Regions from separate parts of the Homo sapiens genome. Here all the other regions are linked to region 2. Evidence: promoter capture Hi-C in human tissues and cell types (Jung and others, 2019). All regions are on one chromosome and are shown on one strand. The core of a region is centred on a gene start or on the middle of the fragment in contact, and the rest is flanking DNA. Distances in the headings are between cores, read along the strand shown.

Region 1 (4,239 bases), core at 911-3,410, 270 kb before region 2:
TAGCATGGCATTTTCTAAAGTTTTAAGCCTTGAGCTTTGTTTTGTTTTGTGAGAATTGAGAACCTGGAATTTTAGTTCTGCATTTTAAATCATGAAATGTTAAAGTCCTTAATTCTTAAGTTATTGTCTATCTCATTGTGCACTCAATTGCTTACATTCTAACTAAAACAATTATGATAAAGGAATAGGGTGAAGGGAGGACAGACATAAACAGTGAAATTAAGGAATTGGGAATCCTAACAAGGGCTTGCTGAGGTATCTTACAGTAGCACTTTTTTTTTTGAGACGGAGTCTCGCTGTGTCACCCAGGCTGGAGTGCAGTGGCGCGATCTCAGCTCACTGCAAGCTCTGCCTCCCGGGTTCACGCCATTCTCCTGCCTCAGCCTCCCGAGTAGCTGGGACTACAGGTGCCTGCCACCACACCTGGCTAATTTTTTGTATTTTTAGTAGAGATGGGGTTTCACCGTGTTAGCCAGGATGGTCTCAATCTCCTGACCTCGTGATCCGCCTGCCTCGGCCTCCCAAAGTGCTGGGATTACAGGCATGAGCCACCATGCCCGGCCTACAAAAGCACTTTTGTAGAAAATTGAATATGATCCTTAAAAGAATGGATAAGCTGCAAGTAGTATTCACTTCTGGAAAGTGATAATGTTTGAGAGCTCAGACAGCTTATTCAATGATCCATTTTTGACATACTATCTTGTACTAGTGTCTGTTTTATTAAATTAATTTTTACTAGCAGTGTTCATTTTTACTTAGTTAAGTGTCTACCCACTGACCTGCTCCCATTGTGGAAATACCACACCGTGTTTGCCCCTTACGACTTTTCTGTATTTGGCAGCAGAGGCTGGTTGCTCAGTTTATTGTAGTACTAGGGAGTTGCCCTTTGTTGTGTTTTTCACAACAGCGATCCATTTCATTTGAACATTTTCAGATCTGGTTGAGGATGTTCTCCATATGTCGACTCTTATCTAGACAAACAGAATAGACTTTTTCTATTTTTGTGGCTAGAGTGGAAAATTTTAGTACTGAATTGCATGTATATGACCCATTGATATTCTTGATACTGGCAAATCCTAAAGGAATCACAGACTCATAATATTTTAGTGAGGTTAATCATCATAATTCATTATTTATCAGCTATTTGCAGGGCACTGTGTTAGGTACCATGGCAAAATAGAGACAAATAGATGTTTGGCCCTCCATTTAGAAAAGTTCAGTCCAGTAAGAGGTATAATGTATGGGTACAAATGACTGTAATTCAAACAGAAAGTGACAACGGAGTAACAGGGTACTGTGGGAGCAGAGGAAAGAGAGATTGCTTCTGGCTGTAGAGATTAGGAAAGCTTCCTATATGAAGTGAAATATGAATTGAGCATTTCAGAGTGAAGGACATGCCACGCAGAGGGATTAGCATAAATTGGGTGTATCTGTACAGCACCTGGTAAGTTCTGTTAATTATCTACTTCTCTTTCTGCTCTGTTGGATTTGAACCCTTTGAACTTAGAGAATTGATGTTTTCCAGCTTTTCATTCTCTACTTCACCACCTGTTCAACTTGGTACATTAATTACTTAGAGTTGTAAGTGGCAGTAGTGTATATGGAGTGAATTCAAGGAAAGAGAGTCCAGAAATGGGAAGACCAGTGAAGAGACAAATAATCTAGGTGATAATAATGAAGTTCTAAACTAGGTGAGATTGGGAAGGAGAGACTTGCATGGATGGGTCTCTCTAGTGAAAGAACCTAGGCAGTTCTTTCACTGTGAATTGTACATAAAGTACATACCGTGTGCCAGGAGATATGGAAAGGGAAAGACATGGTGCTCCCTCAGAAGCTGGGCAGGTGACTGGAGAGCTACATTCACAGGGGTAGAAATAGCTGCAATCAGGCATAGCAGCTGTCATGAAAGAGCAGTGAGAGGCACACCTAAGGGAGAGGGGCACCTACTTGGGATAGTGAGAGAAGCTTTCCAAGGATGTGTGAGTGTTTGAGCTTAGACTTGAAGGGTGAGGAGGAGTGTTTCAGGCCGAGAAGCCTCAGGCGGGTATTATCACATAGTGATGTAAGACACGAAGCATATTAGGGGGCCACAGGAACCGGAATTGTTGCCGTGATGCTGGACAGGAGCAATGAACTTTTATTTGCTGTCTATTTATGTTTATCCAGCTTTAGCACTCTGAGCTTTTGTAAGAAAGTGTTTCTGTTGCCTCTAGTAGCCTCTTGGAAGCACCTCTTCTGTGCTTCTCACTCCCAACCTGGAGTGCAGTGCTGGTGATAAATTGTCTCTTGCTTCCATTTTGTGAAATTAAACAGAAAAAGTAAAGATACCATCAGCCAGAGAGATAAAGAGAAAAGTAAATCCACTAAAATCCTTTTCTTTGATGAAGCCTAGAACCACCGAGGTTGTTGTATAAAGAGAATGCTGCATCAAAGCACAGCTTCAAGAGCACCTGACTTGAGGGAGGGGATTGTGGTAGGAACATGATTATTTACCTTTCCCATAGGGTTTTATGGAACTCTTAAACATTTCCCAAGACTGTAATACCTAATAATGAAGTCCTTTTATTCTAGTTCTAGCCTTGATTCTTTTCTCCTCTCTACTCTAAGCCTTATTATTTTTTAAAAATAACACAGTTTAATAACTAACATGACCCTAAACTTCAGATGGTGTCAAACATCATCTCTGGTCCTCCTCTATCCTTGTTTGGTCATTCAGAGACCTGTATGTGCAAATCGTTATTATAAACTTTGTATGTATAATCTACGTTAGATTGCTAGAGATAAAAAGCACTACAGATTTCTTTTTTACATAGATTTACTTTCTACAGTGGTTATTTTTTTTTCTGTCCTTTGGATTGGACCACTGAAACAGAATATAAAGTTGTTTTCTAAGGACAACCAAAAAGTTAATGGTAGTCTCTAATTCAAATTATATCCATTGTATTTCTAGGCCAGCGGTTGGCAGCTGTTTTGGCTTTAGTGCCATTACTGGTAATACTAAAAGATCATGGGCACTCTCAGGAGGAAAGTGAAAGGAACAGAAGGAGGAAAAGCGGGCTTGTGGGGTGGTAGGGGAGGCACAGAGAGGGGGCGGGAGAAAAAGTACATATGGTTAAAAGAGATCAAGTACCTCCACACCTCTTCCAGGTACCACTTGGTAGGACCAGTGCCATATTTAAGGATTAAGTTGAACTCCCAGCAGTCCTGTCTGAAAATACTCTGGTTGTATTTTTATGCCAAAAATGGCAGTTTCTTTTAATCAAACATTTCTGGATTTAATTTTTAAAATTGTATATGGACCAGTGTCTCTTTATTTTTAGAATTGAGCAGAAAAGGAGACAGAAATCAACATACTTTAAATATCAATGAAAATTATAAGCACATTTCTGAAATGTAGTTAAAGCTTTAAGATCTAAATCCATAGATTAGCCCCATTGTATAGCCCAATTCAGGCACAAGGTGGCAGAAAGTAAAGGGATGAATAGCTGGGAACATGTGTTTGAATTTTTACCGTAGTAAAACTGCATTTTCATACTAACCAAGAGTGTAACTGGACCCACAGAAGGAAAAATAGGGCTAAGAAATTAGAGCCTGTGCTTTTCTGTACAAGTAAACCAAGTACTCTCTCCCTTTCAGAAAACATTATCAAACAACAAAAAATTTATTTTTTAGAACTTACACAAGATATTGGACTGACAAAGCCAAAAACAAAAATACTTAAGATTTTAGCTTTTCTGTAATAGTGGTGAAAAGTTATTTCTCAGATTGTAAGAAATACTGTCTTGAAGTTTTTGATTGATTTTCAGAGTTGAAAGATGCTTTAGAGGTCATCTAGTCCAACTCTGTTGTGAATTCCCTGTACATCATCTCCAACAAGTGGATGTTTAGTCTTTGCCTAAATATTTAAGTTCCTTGCCTAAAGACAAGGAACTTAACAGATCATAAGATAGCTAACTTTCATTCCCTTAAATGGTTAATGTGCTCTTTTGTCCCCAATCCTCTTCTCACTCCCTGCACTGTGAGTGTGGGTGATCTCATATGCTGTGATATCTTCAATAACTTCTCTGCAATGATGACTTCCAAACCGGTATATCTTGCTCAGGTCCCCGTCCTGATCTTAAGACCCCATTGTCCATCTGTCTTCTAGATATCACCACCTTTGGTGTGTTCCATGGATAACTTGGATTCTGCTCACCCAGAGCTGACTTTATCTTCTCCCTTCACAGAGCCATTCTTGTG
Region 2 (4,241 bases), core at 58-2,557:
TTCGAGACCAGTCTGGCCAATATGGCGGAAACCCCGTCTCTACTGAAAATACAAAAATCAGCCGGGTGTGGTGGTGGGCGCCTGTAGTCTCAGCTACTCGGAGGCTGAGGCAGTAGAATCACTTGAACCCAGGAGAAGGAGGTTGCAGTGAGCCAGATCATGCCACTGCACTCCAGCCTGGGTGGCAGAGTGACCTGTTTAAAAAAAGAAGAAAAAAAAGAGAAAGTTATTAATTCACTATATTTTTAGAAGATGGTGGGTTATATGCTACCTATATCTCATACAAATAAAGCTGCTTTTCACCATTCAGGTCTGCCTGTAAGCAGCATCTGCCTTGAAAGAACCATTTTCTGAGAATCTTTTTCTTCTGTCAGCCAAGGGGATTATACCGCATGATATCTGTCAAGGATAAACGTTAGTTAATTCTTAATTGAGAGCTCAGCCACTACAATTGGTTCCATTCTACAGTAATTATTCTCATGTGGTTTGTGGAACTCAATTGTGAGGTCCCTCCTTCCTCCACCCTTTTCAGTGTGTGCATTGAAACAGCAGCCTTAAGGTCTTTAAACGGGGAAATACATTTTTCTTGCTTCAGAGATTCAATTTTACTTGCCCGAGAAGCTTGTGTGGTGTGATTTTCATCGCTAAAAGCAACAGCAGCCACATGGCTGACAACACCACCACTTAACAATTCAAAGCTCGGTCACCGTTTTCAGGAGTCTCTTCCAAATCTTTCTGAAGTGCTTTTGAAGTTCTACATTCCCCGTCTAAGGGAACACCCAGCAGTCCCAGGATAAAAGGGCAGAAGGGTGAGCTGACGTTTTCCTTTATTTGCATGGCTTAAAGCTAGCCATTTTCTACACCACGCGCCGCCGGGCTTGTACATGCCCGTGTGCCTGTGACACCGAGGCAATTGTTTCTCCTTAAAAAGGGGGTTCGCGTGGGTTAGTTTCGTTTCTGATCTGGAATCTCAGTAACTACAACAAGAAAAGTTTAAAACTCGACCCGCCAGGTTCTTCCCCATCGGATTATCTCCGTTCCTTAGAGATAGCAGGAAGGGCAGCATTTTCTTCCATCCACCCACTTCCAGCCCTAGTCTGGCTCAGCGAGGAATGCATAAAATTAGTGGACTCCTCTGAGTGACGTTCCCCGGCTCCAATCAGCGGGCGCGCAGGCGCCCCCGGCCCCGCCCCACTGCTGACTCTCTTTGGCTGATTCCTGCAGGGAGGGAGGAGAGAAGGGCGGCAGTGGGAGGGGGAGGTACCTGGAACTGGGAGTGATGTCAGCTCCCAGCTCGGTGCCTGCCCGGATTCCTGACATGGTGTAGTGCAGGCAGGGTGGGGAAAGGACGGGGAAGGACTCGTGTGCTGCGAGCTGGCGGCCGGGCCGGAGTGCTGGGGCTTTGAACTCCGAGAGGAGGTGGACCAGAACTTTTGGAACTAGTGCCGGCGGCTCTCCACCCCCCAGGTAAGGGCGTTTTGCTCCACTCCCAGACGGGAGGGAAGTGGCACCGTTGTGTGGCTGCAGCTGGCTGTTGCAGCTGCTCCTCCTCTTCCCCGGGTCGATTTCCTTGTGCAACTCACTCCTGTTTCCCAATGGGAACGGGCACTTTTTGGGGGTGGTGGGGGTGGAGGGGTAGGGCTTAACTCCTGGGGCTTGGACCGAGCTTGTACGTGAAGAATACTCCAGGATTGGACGTTTAGGTCTTGTCTGTATCCTTAGACCCCCACACCCTAGGCTCCCGGTAATACCTGAGAACCCCAACCAGAGGGGCGTGTGTGTCTCTCTGTCTGTGTGTATTGAGGCATTTAAAAATGCCACAAAAAATTATGGATCATCGACTCAAAAATTATGCTCGTTGAAAAGAAAAAAAAAGTTTTGTATTTTTTTGTCTCCTTGTGGCCTATTATATATTAAAAGAATATCAATGTTAGTCTTATATATCAATGTAAAATATCCTTTTGTGTAATCCAGTCAGGATGTGAGAAATTCACTTGGGGTGTTTATTAATTATGAGCTTGCGGGAAAACTCGTCTCTTGGGGGCACACTTCTAAAACTGCAACTAGTATTCACTCATTTTAACCGAGAAATCCCTTCAGCTGCCAGCTTTATATCTGGAGAGGTTAGGATGGCTGCTGAGAATCTTCAGATCTGTTTCCTGTGGCTGCTTGAGGGGCGAGCTGGTAGTTGTGTTTTCAGGGATCTTTTTTAGAGAAGGGAGTTTTAACAGGGAAACGCGGTGGAAGGCGTGGCATATAAACTCTTAATTATAGGGACGTGAAGTTTTCAACATGTGGGACCAAAACAAATCCTTGCTTTCAGTAAGAACTGCGGAGAGCAATAGAAAAAGAACTTGATTTCAAAGTCCAAGTTTGGTATTTTGAGAAAGCAATTGCGGGAGGAAAAAGATACTTTTAAGAAGTGAAAGAATAGAATTCTGATTTTTGTTTATTTCCTATTTCAAACCCTGTCTTTTTCCTATGTGGAGATTTTGTGTGCCCAGGTCACTAACTGGGTGTGATTGACTTTCTCGAGGGGGCGGGGAAATTGACTCCATACACCGATTCAGGACCCTCTCATCAGTGCTTTAAGGCTCTCTTTTGGAGCAGGAAGGAAAAAAAAAAAAAAAAAAAAAAAGTAAGCGCTGAGACTCCTGAGTCAAGTTTCCCCTTTCCTTCACCGAAGTTCCTCCTCAGCAGTGAGGATCCTACTGTTGCCAGGTCTGGAGGAAATGGGAGTGGACTTCATTGTGAGTCAAAATCCGTATCCCAGGCCCCTGAAGGGAAAAGGCATTTCCAGGAGATGGAGAAAGAAAGAAGCCACAACAGTAGGTCTAGTAAACCCAAGTCAGGAAAAGGGATAGAGGACTATAGATGGGGTTCTCTATCTTTCTAGCCAAATGATCATTAGGTTTCAGAACTAGAAAGAAGTGTTTGGTTGTGCTGTTGTTTATGACATACCTGGGTCTGTATTGTTGTTAGTTCCTGAAAAAATTAAATAGAGTGGATAAAATAGCAGGCTTTTTGAGAAAGGAAAATTCGCTTTATTGGAAAGACAACATTTTAATTTTGGTTTGTATTTTGGCTTAAGACACAGAAATTGCAAATGGCTCTGCAATAATGGTGAACAAGTCTTTTCTATTTATGTTCTATGGGGAGTACATAAAACATACTGTATTTTCCAGTGTACTTTTTCAGTAGGATAGAGCTGTGGAGTGGAGTTCCTGTGGGCTAATGTGAACTCACGGTAGTGTTCCTTGGCTGATAGTGTTCCAACTGCATTTGTAATACCAAAAGATGGGGCTGCAAAAGCCAGACGGTTCAGTAAAGAAGAGTATCTTTAGGATGTTATCCTTATGTGCCAAATTCAGATTTACACTTTCTTTCCAAGAAACTAGTCCTAGTTTAGGGACTTGAATATACCAAAACTCTAAATTTGATTCACAGTTTGAATAATAGCAGTAATTTTACATACTTAATTTAAACCAATATTTCTCTTTCTCAGTCCATGTTTATGAGGCAGATATGGTGTAGGAAAACACGGAATACTTAAAAGATGTTTGAGTTATTGAGAAAGGTAGGATCAGTTTTTGGTTAAATTCCTGTGACCAACAACTGTCATATTTCCAAGAGCAACTTTAAAAATTAAGGTCGGCCAGGCTTGGTGGCTCACACCTGTAATCCAAGCACTTTAGGAGGCTGAGGCACGCAGATCACCTGAGGTCAGGAGTTGGAGACCAGCCTGGCTAACATGGTGAAACCCCATTTCTACTAAAAATACAAAAAAATTGCCGGGTGTGGTGGTGGGCACCTGTAATCTCAGCTACTTGGGAGGCTGAGGCAGGAGAATCGCTTGAACCCAGGAGGCGGAGGTTGCAGTGAGCTGAGATCTCGTTATTGCACTCCAGCCTGGGCGACTAGAGCAAAACTCCATCTCAAAAATAAATAAATAAAATAAAAATTAAGGTCATCTGGCCTTAATGGATAAATGTTGATTTGAAATCCAGGACACACTGAAGTTCCAGATCAATAGTGCCTAATTTCAAGGGCATCACTGACATTTTTTTGGGAACAAGTTCACCGAGGGACAGTTAATTAACTGTTTATGTAGTCTTTTTGTAGCTCCCTGTTCCACCGTGAGATAAATCAGAACAAGGTCATTTTTCCCCTCAGTTACTGACTAGCTGACTTCTTTTAAAACCTTTCCTATTCATAAAATATTTGTATAAGTAAATTTAGAT
Region 3 (4,583 bases), core at 2,043-4,542, 450 kb before region 2:
CATCTAGGTTTTAAGCCCCACATGTATTAGGTATTTGTCCTAATGCTCTCCCTCCCTTTTCCCCCCCACTCCATGAAAGGCCCCGGTGTGTGATGTTCCCATCCCTGTGTCTATGTATTCTCACTGTTCAACTCCAAATTATGAGTGTGAACATGCAGTGTTTGTTTTTCTGTTTCTGTGTTAGTTTGCTGAGGATGATGGTTTCCAGCTTCATCCATGTCCCTGCAAAGAACATAAACTCATTCTTTTTTTATGGCTGCATAGTATTCCATGGTGTATATGTGCCACATTTTCTTTATCCAGTCTATCATTGATGGGCATTTGGTTAGGTTCCAAGTCTTTGCTGTTGTAAACAGTGCTGCAATAAACATAATGTATGCATGTGTCTTTATAGTAGAATGATTTATAATCCTTTGGGTATATACCCAGTAATGGGATTGCTGGGTCAAATGGTATTTCTGGTTCTAGATCCTTGAGGAATCACCACACTGTCTTCCACAATGGTTGAACTAATTTACACTCCCACCAACAGTGTAAAAATGTTCCTATTTCTCCACATCCTCTCCAGCATCTGTCATTTCCAGACTTTTTAATGATCGCCATTCTAACTGGCGTGCGATGGTATCTTATTGTGGTTTTGATTTGCATTTCTCTAATGACCAGTGATGATGAGCTTTTTTTCATATATTTGTTGGCCACATAAATGTCTTCTTTTGAGAAGTGTCTGTTCATATCCTTCGTCCACTTTTTGATGGGGTTGTTTGTTTTTTTCTTGTAAATTTGTTTAAGTTTCTTGTAGAATGTGGATATTAGCCCTTTGTCAGATGGATAGATTGCAAAAATTTTCTCCCATTCTGTAGGTTGCCTGTACACTCTGATGATAGTTTCTTTTGCTGAGCAGAAGCTCTTTAGTTTAATTAGATCCCATTTGTCAATTTTGGCTTTTGTTGTAATTGCTTTTGGTGTTTTATTCATTAAGTCTTTGCCCATGCCTATGTCCTGAATGGTACTGCCTAGGTTTTCTTCTAGGGTTTTTATATTTTTAGGTCTTACGTTTAAGTCTTTAATCCATCTTGAGTTAATTTTTGTATAAGGTGTAAGGAAGGGGTCCAGTTTCTGTTTTCTGCATATGGGTAGCCAGTTTTCCCAGCACTATGTATTAAATAGGGAATCCTTTCCCCATTGCTTGTTTTTGTCAGATTTGTCAAAGATCAGGTGATTGTAGATGTGTGGTGTTATTTCTGAGGCCTCTGTTCTGTTCCGTTGGTCTGTGTATCTGTTTTGGTACCAGTACCATGCTGTTTTGGTTACTGTAACCTTGTAGTATAGTTTGAAGTCAGGTAGTGTGATGCCTCCAGCTTTGTTCTTTTTGCTTAGAATTGTCTTGGCTATACAGACTCTATTTTGGTTCCATATGAAATTTAAAGTAGTTTTTTTTTAATCTAGTTCTGTGAAGAAAGTCAATGGTAGCTTGATGGGGATAGCATTGAATCTATAAATTACTTTGGGCAATATGGCCATTTTCATGATATTGATTCTTCCTATCCATGAGCATGGATTTTTTTTCCATTTGTTTATGTCCTCTCTTATTTCCTTGATCAGTGGTTTGTAATTCTCCTTGAAGAGGTCCTTCATGTCCCTTGTAAGTTGTATTCCTAGGTATTTTGTTTTCTTTGTAGCAATTGTGAATGAGAGAGAGTTCACTCATGATTTGGTTCTCTGCTTGTCTATTTTTTGTTGTATAGGAATGCTTGTGGTTTTTGTACATTGATTTTGTATCCTGAGACTTTGCTGAAATTGTTTATCAGCTTAAGGAGTTTTTGGGCTGAGACAATGGGGTTTTCTAAATATGCAGTCACGTCGTCTGCAAACAGACATTTTGACTTCCTCTTTTCCTGTTTGAATACCCTTTATTTCTTTCTCTTGCCTGATTGCTCTGGCCAGAACTTCCAGTACTATGTTGAATAGGAGTGGTGAGAGAGGGCATCCTTGTCTTGTGCCAGTTTTCAAAGGGAATACTTCCAGCTTTTGCCCATTCAGTATGATACTGGCTATGGGTTTGTCATAAATAGCTCCTATTATTTTGAGATATGTTCCAATAATACCTACTTCGTTGAGAGTTTTTAGCATGAAGGGATGTTGAATTTTATCGAAGGCCTTTTCTGCAACTATTGAGATAATCATGTGGCTTTTGTCGTTGGTTCTGTTTAAGTGATGGATTATGTTTATTGATTTGCATGTGTTGAATGAGCCTTGCATCCCAGGGATGAAGCCGACTTCATCATGGATAAGCTTTTGATTTGCTGTTGGATTTGGTTTGCCAGTATTTTATTAGGATTTTTGCATTGATGTTCATCAGGGATATTGGCCTGAATTGGTGTGTGTGTGTGTGTGTGTGTGTGTGTGTGTGTGTGTCTGCCAGGTTTTGGTATCAGGATGATGCTGGCCTCATAAAATGAGTTAGGGAGGAGTCCCTAATTTTCTGCTGTTTGGAATAGTTTCAGAAGGAATGGTACCACCTCCTCTTTGTACCTCTGGTAGAATTTGGCTGTGAATCCATCTGGTCCTGGGCTTTTTTGGTTGGTAGGCTATTAATTACTGCCTCAATTTCAGAACTTGTTATTGGTCTATTCAGGGATCGACTTTTTCCTGGTTTAGTCTTGGGAGGGTGTAAGTGTCCAGGAATTTATCCATTTCTTCTAGATCTTCTAGTTTATTTGTGTAGAGGTGTTTATGGTATTCTCTGATGGTAGTTTGTATTTTTGTGGGATCAGTGGCGATATACCCTTTATCATTTTTTGTTATATCTATTTGATTGTTCTCTCTTTTCTTCATTATTAGTCTGGCTAACGGTCTATCTATTTTGTTAATCTTTTCAAAAAACCAACTCCTTGAGGCTACGATTTTGAGACCAGCCTGGCCAACATGGTGAAACCCTGTCTCTACTAAAAATGTAAAAATTAGCCTGTGTGGTTGCGCATGCCTGTAGTCCCAGCTATTTGGGACACTGAGGCATGAGAATCGCTTGAACCCAGGAGGTGGAGGTTGCAGTGAGCAGAGATCATGCCACTGCACCCCAGCCTAGGCTACAGAGTGAGACTCTGTCTCAGCAACAACAAAAGACTATATAGAGCACACTCTCACTCTCAGAAGTCCCCTAGAATGCACAATACTGCATATAGTGGACTATGCCTGTTCTTGTTAGTTTGGAAGAAGCAGAACAATCTGTCACTGCTCAAAATAAAAGAAAACGTCAAAACAATTTGAAGAAATTATTAGCATTGTAAGTGTCAGGCTGTTCTTGATTTGTGAGAAACAGAAATTTACTGTGTTTTGAAGGTAGACATGAGATATTCAGGCTTTGAAACTTGCAAAAATTTCAAAGGACAGAGGACCTACCTCCCCATTTGGCAAAAATTATTCTTTTTAATCTCAGCAAAAGCTAGATAAACTCCTGAAATCTTACATGTTCTGGAAAAATACCTCGATGCTAGTCTGCTTTCAACTGAACCAATTTGGCTTTTTATAGTTAGGACTTGAAGGATGAATAGTTACCAATCTGTGAGACTGAAAATTCTTTGCAGCCAGCTGTGAACCCAAAGGCAGGTGCCAGGATGAATGAATGAATCTAGATTAAAGAATTGCCCAGTTTATATTGCTTGAGAAATCAAATTATTATCTAAGTTTTGTTTAGAGTAAATGTTTGATGTTTTAAATATATATATATATACCTCATAAGCTATTACTGTCATACAAATATAGCAGATATAATACTTTAATAGAGATCTATACTACCTACTTACTAGAACTTTTTTTTATATTTTCCCCATCTTTGCTTTCTCATTTTCTCTTTCTCTCTTTTTTCCTGGACTAATTGAAAGTAAGTTGCAGATATCATGACACTTCTATCCTTAAATATTTCAGCCTAAATTTCCTAAGAACCCAGGACATTCTCCTACATAGCCGTATATTCTCATTATACCCAGCAAATATTCAATCATATTATCTAAGGTACACTCCACATTCAGAAAAAAAAATGCCCTTTACCATAGTTTTTGTTTTGCTTTTGGTTTTGATCAAAGATTCCATCAAAAATGGCTCACGCCTGTAATCCCAGCACTTTAGGAGGCCAAGGTGGGCGGATCACCTGAGGTCAGGAGTTCGAGACCAGCCTGACCAACATGGAGAAACCCCATCTCTACTAAAAATACAAAATTAGCCGGGTGTGATGGCACATGCCTGTAATCCCAGCACTTTGGGAGGCCGAGGCGGGTGGATCACAAGGTCAGGAGATCGAGACCATCCTGGCTAACAAGGTGAAACCCCGTCTCTACTGAAAATACAAAAAAATAGCGGGGTGTTGTGGCGGGTGCCTGTAGTCCCAGCTACTCGGGAGGCTGAGGCAGGAGAATGGCGTGAACCTGGGAGGCGGAGCTTGCAGTGAGCCGAGATTGTGCCGCTGCACTCCAGCCTGGGCAACAGAGCAAGACTCTATCTCAAAAAAAAAAAAAAAAAATTACAAAGAGCAATTGGTTGTCATGTTTCTTTCATCTCTTTTATGAACTCTTTTGTCTCCCTGTCTT

Evidence for each region. Contacts are between HindIII fragments. The study calls those that stand out against the background at their distance.
Region 1: a fragment that was not itself captured here is called in contact with the fragment with the promoter of PPFIBP1 in region 2 in 1 of the 25 tissues and cell types used here (liver).
Region 3: a contact is called between a fragment that was not itself captured here and the fragment with the promoter of PPFIBP1 in region 2, in 1 of the 25 tissues and cell types used here (hippocampus).

The regions. Positions count from the first base shown.
Region 1 is chr12:27,251,716-27,255,954 of GRCh38, forward strand. The region is part of intron 1 of STK38L (serine/threonine kinase 38 like); the gene reads left to right. Among named protein-coding and RNA genes, the nearest start is that of STK38L, 9.5 kb to the left of the region's middle. The HindIII fragment of the contact is 4,536 bases long and covers 1-4,239 here.
Region 2 is chr12:27,522,899-27,527,139 of GRCh38, forward strand. It overlaps PPFIBP1 (PPFIB scaffold protein 1), which reads left to right and starts at 1,308. Exons shown (of 30, transcript NM_003622.4): 1 at 1,308-1,467. RefSeq lists enhancers at 125-726, 624-1,083, 1,330-1,930. The HindIII fragment of the contact is 12,160 bases long and covers 1-4,241 here.
Region 3 is chr12:27,071,561-27,076,143 of GRCh38, forward strand. No RefSeq gene overlaps it. Among named protein-coding and RNA genes, the nearest start is that of C12orf71, 8.7 kb to the right of the region's middle. The HindIII fragment of the contact is 7,623 bases long and covers 1-4,583 here.